Regions from separate parts of the Homo sapiens genome. Here regions 1 and 3 are each linked to region 2. The links are contacts of gene promoters, found by promoter capture Hi-C in human tissues and cell types (Jung and others, 2019). All regions are on one chromosome and are shown on one strand. The core of a region is centred on a gene start or on the middle of the fragment in contact, and the rest is flanking DNA. Distances in the headings are between cores, read along the strand shown.

Evidence for each region. The method cuts DNA at HindIII sites, captures the fragments that hold promoters and counts their contacts. A contact is called where the count stands out against the background at its distance.
Region 1: a contact is called between a fragment that was not itself captured here and the fragment with the promoter of PANK2 in region 2, in 2 of the 25 tissues and cell types used here (hippocampus and small bowel).
Region 3: a contact is called between a fragment that was not itself captured here and the fragment with the promoter of PANK2 in region 2, in 1 of the 25 tissues and cell types used here (IMR-90 fibroblasts).

The regions. Positions count from the first base shown.
Region 1 is chr20:4,182,082-4,185,807 of GRCh38, forward strand. It overlaps SMOX (spermine oxidase), which reads left to right. Exons shown (of 7, transcript NM_175839.3): 5 at 8-767; 6 at 1,413-1,573. Among named protein-coding and RNA genes, the nearest start is that of LINC01433, 9.1 kb to the right of the region's middle. The HindIII fragment of the contact is 6,680 bases long and covers 1-3,726 here.
Region 2 is chr20:3,888,027-3,891,691 of GRCh38, forward strand. It overlaps PANK2 (pantothenate kinase 2), which reads left to right and starts at 1,361. Exons shown (of 7, transcript NM_001386393.1): 1 at 1,361-1,702. The coding sequence starts at 1,405. PANK2-AS1 (PANK2 antisense RNA 1) reads right to left here and starts at 1,147. Exons shown (of 2, transcript XR_001754478.3): 1 at 713-1,147; 2 at 1-523. RefSeq lists an enhancer at 436-987 and silencers at 996-1,055, 1,246-1,745. The HindIII fragment of the contact is 29,664 bases long and covers 1-3,665 here.
Region 3 is chr20:4,198,517-4,202,194 of GRCh38, forward strand. No RefSeq gene overlaps it. Among named protein-coding and RNA genes, the nearest start is that of LINC01433, 7.3 kb to the left of the region's middle. RefSeq lists a silencer at 3,563-3,678. The HindIII fragment of the contact is 3,341 bases long and covers 362-3,678 here.

The DNA.
Region 1 (3,726 bases), core at 1,022-3,521, 290 kb after region 2:
CCCGCAGGTGGAGAGCTGTGAGAGCAGCTCACACAGCATGGACGAGGTGTCCCTGAGCGCCTTCGGGGAGTGGACCGAGATCCCCGGCGCTCACCACATCATCCCCTCGGGCTTCATGCGGGTTGTGGAGCTGCTGGCGGAGGGCATCCCTGCCCACGTCATCCAGCTAGGGAAACCTGTCCGCTGCATTCACTGGGACCAGGCCTCAGCCCGCCCCAGAGGCCCTGAGATTGAGCCCCGGGGTGAGGGCGACCACAATCACGACACTGGGGAGGGTGGCCAGGGTGGAGAGGAGCCCCGGGGGGGCAGGTGGGATGAGGATGAGCAGTGGTCGGTGGTGGTGGAGTGCGAGGACTGTGAGCTGATCCCGGCGGACCATGTGATTGTGACCGTGTCGCTAGGTGTGCTAAAGAGGCAGTACACCAGTTTCTTCCGGCCAGGCCTGCCCACAGAGAAGGTGGCTGCCATCCACCGCCTGGGCATTGGCACCACCGACAAGATCTTTCTGGAATTCGAGGAGCCCTTCTGGGGCCCTGAGTGCAACAGCCTACAGTTTGTGTGGGAGGACGAAGCAGAGAGCCACACCCTCACCTACCCACCTGAGCTCTGGTACCGCAAGATCTGCGGCTTTGATGTCCTCTACCCGCCTGAGCGCTACGGCCATGTGCTGAGCGGCTGGATCTGCGGGGAGGAGGCCCTCGTCATGGAGAAGTGTGATGACGAGGCAGTGGCCGAGATCTGCACGGAGATGCTGCGTCAGTTCACAGGTGCGCCACGTGCCCCACGACCCGCTTCCCCCACCCTGCTTCTTCCTCACCTGCCCTCCTCTGGTGGACCCATGGCAGCTCTCTCCTCCCCAGACCGTGAAGCTCGGATGCTGTGCCCCACGGGAGAGCCACTGCAGGGTGCCACATTCAGCCAAAGGCTCTTCAGTTGCTGACAGTTTAGAACTTGACACACTCAGAATTATGGGCGCTGTGTCTCTTCCCCCTTTCTAAAGGCTGATGGTAAAACACTCAGAGATCACCGCCCATTGTGCTCTGTTGCTAAGAGCTGGATTTGCCTTTTACTCTCTGAGTCTTTCAGCTCAACATTTTTCACCCACTATTCCAGGAGGACCTCACGAGAACCCCCGATATTAGGCGGGGAAACATGATTATGTGTCATGTGTTTTCAGATAGATAGGAAAAGTAAGGTGGAGCGTTTTGCCGGGGGTCACAGGAGGCGCTGAGTGGGTACACAGCTCGAGCCCCAGCCTCCCTCCTTCCTCTTCTATCCTCCGTGCCTACCCCTGGCAGTCTGGTCCTCCCGGAGCCCTGGAGGTGGGGTGGGGGGTTGTCCCTTTGGGGTCATCTTCCATATGCAGCCATTTCTTATCCTCCCTCCTCTTGGCTTTTCTGACTCTCCATCAGGGAACCCCAACATTCCAAAACCTCGGCGAATCTTGCGCTCGGCCTGGGGCAGCAACCCTTACTTCCGCGGCTCCTATTCATACACGCAGGTGGGCTCCAGCGGGGCGGATGTGGAGAAGCTGGCCAAGCCCCTGCCGTACACAGAGAGCTCAAAGACAGCGGTAAGCGGGGCGTTTGGGGTGAGGAGGGGAGTTGTGGGTGTATTTTGTATGTGTGTCCGGTCCAGGGTGAGGAGGGCTAGGGTAGTGTTCACTAAGGGGTGCTCAGGTGAGGCAGGGATGGAGTAGCTTCTGTAATGAGAGAGAACACAAGGAAAAAAGTGTGCACTTAATATCTGGAAGAAAAAATGGAATCAAATTGAAACTTAAAATGTTTTCTTGATGTTATGAAAACTGAGCTATTCCATGCTGTGCTGGCCAATACGGTAGCTATCAGCCACTTTCAATTTAAATTAATTTATTAAAAATTTAAATTAATACAGTATTTTTTTTTTCTTTTTTGAGACAGGGTCTTGCTCTGTCTACACTTCAGGCTGGGGTATAGTGGTGTGATCACAGCTCACTGCAGCCTTGACCTCCTGGGCTCAAGTGATCCTCCCACCTCAGCCTCCCAACTAGCTGGGACCACAGGCATGCCGGCACGCCACCATGTCCAGCTAATTTTTGTACTTTTTTTTTTTTTTTGGTAGAGATGGGGTTTCATCATACTGCTAGGCTGGTCTTGAACTCTTGGGCTCAAGCTGTCCTCCCGCCTCAACCTCCTGAAGTGCTAGGATTATAGGAATGAGCCACCACACTTGGCCAATACAGTAAAGTTTTTGTTCCTTGGTTGCACTAGTCACATTTCAAGTTCAACAGCCACATGTGGCTAGAGGTTACCATAGTAAAGTACATAGCGATAGGAATGTCCTATTGGACAGCACTGATTCAATGGAAATGTTTTCCCAATATATTTCAGAAAATAAAGTTTAGATTACTGATGCTCCACAATATGCCAACTGTACACTAAAAAAAAAAAATCTGAAATATATATTTATGCTCCCATAAAGTGGATTTTGAGTTTCCCCCATCAAGTAGACACACACAGTAAATGTTAAAACTCAACAGTTATATTTAAAACAATTATTTGGTATAATTGGTGAAGAAGAGTTCAGTCAACCAGCATCTACTATGCCTGCCCAACGGTGCTCAGATGGAGAGAGAAAAGGGCTGGTGTTTAAAGAGAGAGAGGTCCTCAGAAAGGCCCTTTCTGCTGCCACAGCCATCCTCCTAAAAAGCAAATCTTCTCTTTTCACTTGCATCAGTTAGGACTAGTGCATGTAGCAAAAAGCAAAGCAAAGCAAACACAACTGTGACTTAAACAAGGAAAATCAAAAGGAAATCTGGAGGCAGGCAGCAGGATCCCGTATCATTAGCACCTGGCTCTCATCTTCAAGACCATCTTGTGGTCCAAGAGGGCTGCAGAAGCTCCAGTTCTCACATCTGCATCTTAGGCTAGAAGGAAGAGGAAAGGCAGATGGCAAGAAGGGAACCCTTGGAGCTGAGTCAGCTGTGTCTCTAAGCAACAGTGCACTTTAATGCTTATTGGCCAGAACATAGACACATGACTGCACCTAGCTGCTACAGAGGCTGGGCAGTATCATTTTTATTCTGGATGGCAATGGACCCAGTTAAAAATCAGGACTTTGTTATTGAGGAGAAAGAGGAGAATGGTTGGATGTGGGAGTGGTCCCAGCTACTTGGGAGGCTGAGGTGGGAGGATCACTTGAGCCCAGGAGGTCAAGGCTGACACAGTATACAACACCCCTTTCAGTGTAACAGCCTCTGTGGGCTCCTTGGTGGTGGGATTACAGCCTCACTACTCAGGGTAGGTAGATCAGTACCAGCCTCACCTGGGAGCTAGTTAGAAATGCAGATTCTCAGCCTGGCCAACATGGCGAAACCCTGTCTCTACTAAAAATACAAAATTAGCCAGGCATGGTGGTGCACACCTGTAGTTCTAGCTACTTGGGAGGCTGAGGCATGAGAATTGCTTGAAGCTGGGAGGCGGAGGTTGCAGTGAGTTGAGATCATGCCATTGCACTCCAGCCTGGGTGACAGAGCGAGACCCTGTCTCAAAACAAAAACCAAAAAACAACAACCCCTGGCGCCCTAAACACACACACACACAAATAAATAAATAAATAAAAAGAAATGCAGATTCTCAGCCTGGCCAACATGGCGAAACCCTGTCTCTACTAAAAATACAAAATTAGCCAGGCATGGTGGTGCACACCTGTAGTTCTAGCTACTTGGGAGGCTGAGGCATGAGAATT
Region 2 (3,665 bases), core at 111-2,610:
TAGAATTTTCAGAGCTAGTCCTACAGTGAGGGGAGCTAACGTGGAGTGGGCGTGAGAATTCTATTCAGCAAGCACAAGCGAAGCTCAACCTTTTTGTTCAGCCTGCTACAACCAATCATTATGGGAGAGGGGAATAAGGATCACTGCCCAAGGGGCATTAGGATCACTGCCCAGTGGGCATTACAGTCTCCCCAGGGAGGCACTCTTTTTTATTTTTTATTTTTTTTGAGACGGAGTTTCGCTCTTGTTGCACAATGTTGGGTCACTGCAGCCTCCGCCACCCGGGTTCAAGCAATTTTCCTGCCTCAGCTTCCCAAGTAGCTGGGATTATAGGCATGGGCCACCACGCCCCGCTAATACGGAGGCACTTTTAATTAGCCCACAGTCCAGTGAAATTTGACGGAGTGAGGAAGTGACCTCAGAGTACAGAACGGGATGGGATCCTTCCGGGCTTGGGCAGCCTTTGGTAGTGGGGATGCTTGGAAGGGTCAGGGTCTCAGTCCTGGAGGTGACCAATTTTTCTCTCCAAAAGAGAAAGGAAGATGATTAAAAAAAAAATCCATGCTCCAAAGCGGCAGCCAAATCCTTCTATGGCCCCCAATGCATCACCCAGAAAGGGGCTCCAGACTCTCCTGCAAAAGGCCAACTCTACTTCCCGGCTCCCACTTCCCCTCCTTCGCCACAGGAGGGTGGCGAAGGATTTATAACCCACCTCTTTCTTTCAGTTGCCATGGAGACAAGCCCCAGTCCTTTCATTCCTTCTGGTACCTCTCTCTCCAACGCAGGCGGAAAGGAGGCGGCTTAGCCCAAACATGCTGGGGGAGGGGCTGGCGGCCTCGACGGCAGCTGCGGAACTAGGCCGAGGGACAAAGGCTAAGGTCAGCCGCGGTTCAAGCCCTTTCGTCTGCCGACGACCAGCGGCCAGACGCTGCGGGAGCACTGCTGGGCTGGAGGAGGGCTCGAGCTGCGAGGACGGCACGGAGCAGCGGGGTGGGACTCGGGGTCGCCCCAGGAGAGTTCCGCGGCCCGGGGGGGCAGAGGCATGCACAAGTGGGGGGCGGAAGGAGGGGGTGGATGAGGAGGCTCGGGCCCTTCCACCCACGCGTCCATTGGGCGGCGCCGCCATCACTCTCTTCTGGGCTACACCGCCTTCTCTTCCTCCGCGGAACCCGGATCCCCTCCTCCACCACCCTCTCCCCGCCCCGTCACGATAGCCTCTCATTGGACGGAGGCACGGTCAATCCTCCTCGAGTTAGGGAGCCGACTGGACGCGAGGCCTTTGGGCCGTCCCCAGCCTCGTCGGATTGGCTTCCTGCGCGTTGGCGCAACGGAAGAGGCGGCCGGCCGAGGGCGCGCCTCTGCTCTGGCTGGACTGCCGCGGAGGAGGCGAGAAGGAATCCGACGCTGGGGGGCTTGCTCGGGCGGCAGCGACTGCTGCTGCGGATGGGAGGGGGCCGGCTCGGCGCGCCCATGGAGCGCCACGGCAGGGCTTCCGCCACCTCCGTCTCGTCGGCTGGGGAGCAGGCGGCCGGGGACCCCGAAGGGCGGCGGCAGGAGCCACTGCGGCGCCGGGCGAGCAGCGCGTCGGTGCCCGCGGTCGGGGCCTCGGCTGAGGGCACGAGGCGGGATCGACTGGGCTCTTACAGCGGCCCCACCTCGGTCTCCCGCCAGCGCGTCGAAAGCCTGAGGAAAAAGCGGCCGCGTAAGTGTTCCGTGGGGCGCCCTCCCGGCCCGCCCTGCCCCCCCTTCCGGCCCACCCTGTCCCCTTCCGGCCCCGCCGCCGTTTTTCCCGCGCGCGGACACTGTCCCCGCACGGTGGTCCCTCGTTGGTGCGTGGCCTGACATCCGGCTGGAGGCCTCGGGTGCTCCGAAAGCGGTACCTTCGGGGGCCCCCCCGCACCCATTGGTATGCACTTCCCGCTTGTTGGAGTGGAGGGCTTTTCCCCAGGACCTGTCCTCCCTTTTCTTAGCTCCTTGGGCATTCTCTTCCTGAGGGTCACATGATTTTATCCTCGAGAAGGCTTCTTTTGACTCATTTCCACCTCCTTTCCTCCCAAATCCTTTGAATCCCCAATGTTTGTTTTCCGTGGGTTTCCAAAGAGCTGCTCTCTAATACTTTAAGTCCCTTTTATTCGTCAATTTCGGGCTTACTGGAAAATGGTGAACTGCCCCTTGAGTTGCACCAGGCCTGAAACTGTATTCCGTGCACCTCTAAGGTGGCTGCCCTTCTTCTCGTGAGAATCCAGGTCATCTCTCACCCACATATCCCCTCCGTTTTCCTTCTGTCTATTTGCAGGTACTCACGATTCAGAACTGTGGCATTCTGGGCATTAAGGCTCTTTGTTTTGAGGGGAAACAACATCTTTCTGAATTTTGCCTTGGGAGTTGCATACGCTCCTCCCAGAGAATCCGTTTCCCCATTTTATTAGGTTTCTTTTTCTGTGTTGTGTATTTTCTCCCCTTTACAAGTCTTCAATTCAGGACCGCTGCCTGGCAGCCATTGCTGCTGTTGAAAGTATCAATTGTCCTGATACTGTAATATGAGCTTTACAGTGTGATGCCATTTTACATATGGTTGGACTTTTTGGTGGGTGTTGCCAGATTCCTATTTCAGGAAATTGACTTGTTTAAATGCAGATTGTGAGAGGGAGGGAAAATGGCAAGATGTGAGATTTTTATTGAATAGTCTTCTACCTTAGCCCAGTCACCCAACTGCTTTTTTGAATCTTCTCTGATATGGATGATTAAATGTAGTTCTATTTTGCTGTGAAAAGTTTGGGAGTTTTCAGTTCTTTTGTCTTTTTCCATCTTCTTGCAACAGATTTGGAAAACAGATTCTTAACCTGTGCCATTTTCAGAGTCAGTCACCTAGTTTTGTTTTATTTGAGAAGCACCTGAGTTTGAAGCAATGCAAAATATGAGATCCTTCATGGTTTTGTATTACATCGTTGGAAATGGATGTAAATTCCAAAGATTCAGCAAATAAGAGTATAGCCATTAGCCACAAGGGTTTTTTTGGTTTGTTTTTTGTTTTTTACTTTGAGACAGCGTCTTGTTCTGTTGCCCAGGCTGAAGTGCAGTGGCATGATCATGGCTCATTGTGGCCTTAACCTCCTGGGCTCAAGCCATCCTCCTGCTTCAACCTCCTGCATTGCTGGGACTAAAGGCACGTGCCACTATGCCAGGCTAATTTTTCAATTTTTATTTTTTTAAATAGAGATGGGATCTCTTATGTTGCCCAGGCTGGTCTTGAATTCCTCCTGGTCTCAAGCGATCTTCCCACTTCGGCCTCCCAAAGTGCTGGGATATAGACGGGAGCCATTGTGCCCGACCTGGCAGTCGTCTACTAAGAGCTTTGGTAACTCATTAGCCTCGTGGCTCTGAGGTAGGTGGTAGTATTCCATTTTACAGATGAGAAAACTGGGACACGTTTGCCCGGTCAAATGGCTAGTGCGTTGTGAAATAGAAATGTAAACTCAGAATTGCTAGCTTCATAGCTTTTGCGGTGGACCACTGTGTTTTTCTGAATTATTTACGTTCTGTTAGTTATTTCTTCATTGCTCTAAGACCAAGCATAAGTTTGATCTTTTGTGTTCAAGACTGACTTACTTGAGGCGAAAATTTTTAGATACTGTGGAAGTACTTCCAAATATTGAGCATGAGAA
Region 3 (3,678 bases), core at 782-3,281, 310 kb after region 2:
CCTCCAGTCTGGTCCTCCTTGCTTTTTGTCTACACTGTTGTTTTTCCAAGTGTGGTCCCCTGAACAGCAGCATCAGCATCTCCCGGGAACTCAGTAGAAATGCAGAATATCAGACTCCTCTTCTGACCTGAATCAGAATCTGCATTTTAACAAGGTCTCCAGGTGATTTGTGTGCACATTTGGGTCGATCTGTGCTAACTATAATACCGCACTCATAGTGAGGCTCAGCTGTGCCTCATGCTTTTCACACAGCAGGGGTTAATAATCTCCTTACATCCCTCCCTCCCTCATGCCCCTTGTCATACATTTCTAGAGCTCACCTCCCAGGGAGAGTTTGCCCATCTTTAAGTTATTTTGCAGGCAGGTGTTAGGGCTTCCCCACGGCCTGTGAGTGTTCCAGTGCTGCGGTGGCCTTCCATTTCTTTTGCCTGTCTAGAGCCTTGCTCTTCTAAGTGTGTTCAGTGGATCAGCAGCATTGGCCTCACCTGGGAGCCTTTTAGAGCATCAGAATCCCAGGCTCCATCCTCAGACCTGCCGGATCATAAAGCAGGGCAGGTGAGCTCCCAAACTGGGGCTTAGCTGCCCTGCATTATGAGTTTTTGGCTTTGCCCAGGAAAGAATTCAAGGGTGAGCTGGTGGTGTTAGACAGCGACTTTTACTGAAGTGGCAGTGCACAGCAGTAGCAAAGGCACAGTTCCTTGTGGGGCAGGGCTACCCCACAGGCAGTGTGCCCAGAGGAGCAGCTCAGAGGCAGTTCTGCAGTCATTTTTTTTTTTTTTTTTGAGACGGAATCTTGCTCTGTCGCCCAGGCTGGAGTGCAATGGCACAATCTCGGCTCACTGCAAGCTCCGCCTACCGGGTCACGCCATTCTCCTGCCTCAGCCTCCCGAGTCGCTGGGACTACAGGCGCCCACCACCACGCCCGGCTAATTTTTTGTATTTTCAGTAGAGACGGGGTTTCAACATGTTAGCCAGGATGGTCTCGATCTCCTGACCTCGTGATCCGCCCGCCTCGGCCTCCCAAAGTGCTGGGATTACAAGCGTGAGCCACCGCGCCCAGCCTGCAGTCATATTTATACCTACTTTTAACTACATGCAAATTAAGGGGGTGGATTTTGCAGACATTTTTAGGAAAAAGGTGATAACTTCTGGATCATTGGGTGGTTGCCATGGAAAGGGGTGGTAACTTTCAGGTGTTGCCATGGCAATGGTAAACTGACATGGCACACTGATGGACATGTCTTACGGAGGGATGCTTTTGTCTCTTCCTGTTTCAGCTAGTTCTCAATTTGGTGTGGTGTCCTAGCCCCACCTGTGGAGTCAAGTCCCACCTCCTACCTCAATCAGAACCTGAGTTTTTTTCCAACACGAGCTCCAGGTGAGTTGATTGCACAGTAAAGTCTGAGATGTGCTGTTTACACCACTGGTTCCTCATCTTGGCATAAGGATCATTTGGGGAGATTTAAGAAACCAACAACTCAGTGTTCCTGGCTTAACTTAGAGTTGTGGTTCCTGCCCTTGACTGCACATTGAATCACCTGGGAGCTTTAAAAGCCATGGGTGACCAGGCGCAGTGGCTCATGCCTGTAATCCCAGCACTTTGGGAGGCTGAGGTGGACAAACCACCTGAGGTCAGGAGTTCGAGACTAGCCTGGCCAACATGGTGAAACCCCCGTCTCTACTAAAAATGCAAAAATTAGGCCAGGCACAGTGGCTCACGCCTGTAATCCCAGCACTTTGGGAGGCCCAAGTGGGTGGATCTTCTGAGGTTTGGAGTTCAAGACCAGCCTGGCCAACATGGTGAAACCCCGTCTCTACTAAAAAAAATACAACAAATTAGCTGGGCGTGGTAGTGGGAGCCTGTAATCCCAGCTACTCAGGAGACTGAGGGAGGATGATCGCTTGAACCCGTGGGGTGGAGGTTGCAGTGAGCCGAGGCTGCGCCATTGCACTCCAGCCTGGGCAACAAGCGCGAAACTCCATCTCAAAAAAAAGAAAAAAAAATTAGCTGGGTGTGGTGGCGCATGCCTGTAATCCCAGCTACTCAGGAGGCTGAGGCAGGAGAACCACTTGAACCCAGGAGGTGGAGGTTGCAGTGAGCCAAGATCGCGCCATTGCACTACCAGCTTGGGCGATAAGAGCAAAAAAAAAAAAAAAAAAAAAAAAAGAAAAGCCATGGATGCCCAGGGCCACCCCTAGAACTGGTTTGAATTGGTCTTTCCCCTGTGTTCTTCAATGTAGGCAGCAACTCCTGCCTCTAATTCCATCAGGGGCCACCTTTTCCTACCATAATGGCTTTCATTTCACAAGTCAGGGGGCCAAAGAGATGAGCTTGACTGTTGCGAACGATATCTGCCTTTGCTCTTCAGGCAGGAACTGGGGAACTAACCCTGCAGGGGTTCAGATTTCTTGGGCTACTGCAAGACAGCCTTCGGTCAAAGCTCCATTAACTTACTAGCTACATGGCCCCCACTGTGATCAGTGTTTTTTAATCTCTGAAAGGTTTTTTTTCCTACCTAGTGAACAATCACACAGATACTTTTGTAGAACGAAGATGTTTACAAAACAAAGCATGTGGGGCAAGTGTACCCAGCCTTCCTTTTATTCAAGAGGTTCTGGGACAGTGAACTTACCCAGATTAATCAATTTCACGGGGTATGCCATATTTTAGGAATAACTTTTTGGACAATTTGTCCGCACGTCTATTTCCTTAAACTTGCCATTTTATGTCCTTGCACAGTTATTATGTTACAATATATTCTCCACCATCAAATTTTCACACTTCCAGGATTCAATAAAAAAGCTTAGCAATGCCTGTGAGGCATGAAGATTACCTTCTGAATCATCAAAGAGAGATGTTTTTTTCTTTCTTTTTTTTGAAATGGAGTCTCACTCTGTCACCCAAGCTGGAGTGCAGTGGCCTATCTTGGCTCACTGCAACCTCCGCCTCCCGGGTTCAAGTGATTCTCCTGCCTTAGCCTCTGGGAGCAGCTGGGATTACAGGCACGCTGCACTATGCCTGGCTTTTTTTTTTTTTTTTTTTTTTATTTTTAGTAGGGATAGGGTTTCATCATGTTGGCCAGGCTGGTCTGGAACTCCTGACCTCAAGTTGTCCACCCCCCTCTGCCTCCCAAAGTGATGGGATTATAGGTGTGCCCAGCCTGAATCATCATAGACAGATTTGATTAGGAACCATTGCTATATCCTAAATCTCTTTGGTCTATGATTCTTTCTCATTTTTACTTCAACTTTTTTTTTTTTTCCCAGACAGGCTGTTGCTCTGTCCCCCAGTCTGGAGTGCAGTGGTGTGATCATGGCTCACTGCAGCCTCAATCTTCTGGGCTCAAGCCATCCTCCCACCTCAGCCTCCTGAGTAGCTGGGGCCACAGGCATGCACCACCACACCTAGCTAATTTTTAAAATTATTTCTAGAGTGAAGGTCTCACTGTGTTGCCCAGGCTTCCACTTTGAACTCCTGGGCTCAAGCAGTCCTCCTGACTTGGCCTCCCAAAGTGTTAGGATTACAGGCATGAGACACTGCACCTGGCCTTTCTTCAACTTTGTATACTGAAACATAGCATACAGAGTGCAGGACAGTTCTCCTGGTGGCCTTGGACCAACCCAGCTCTTCCCCCTTTCTTGCTTGTAGTTCTCAAAATAACTGTAGAATGTGCTGGG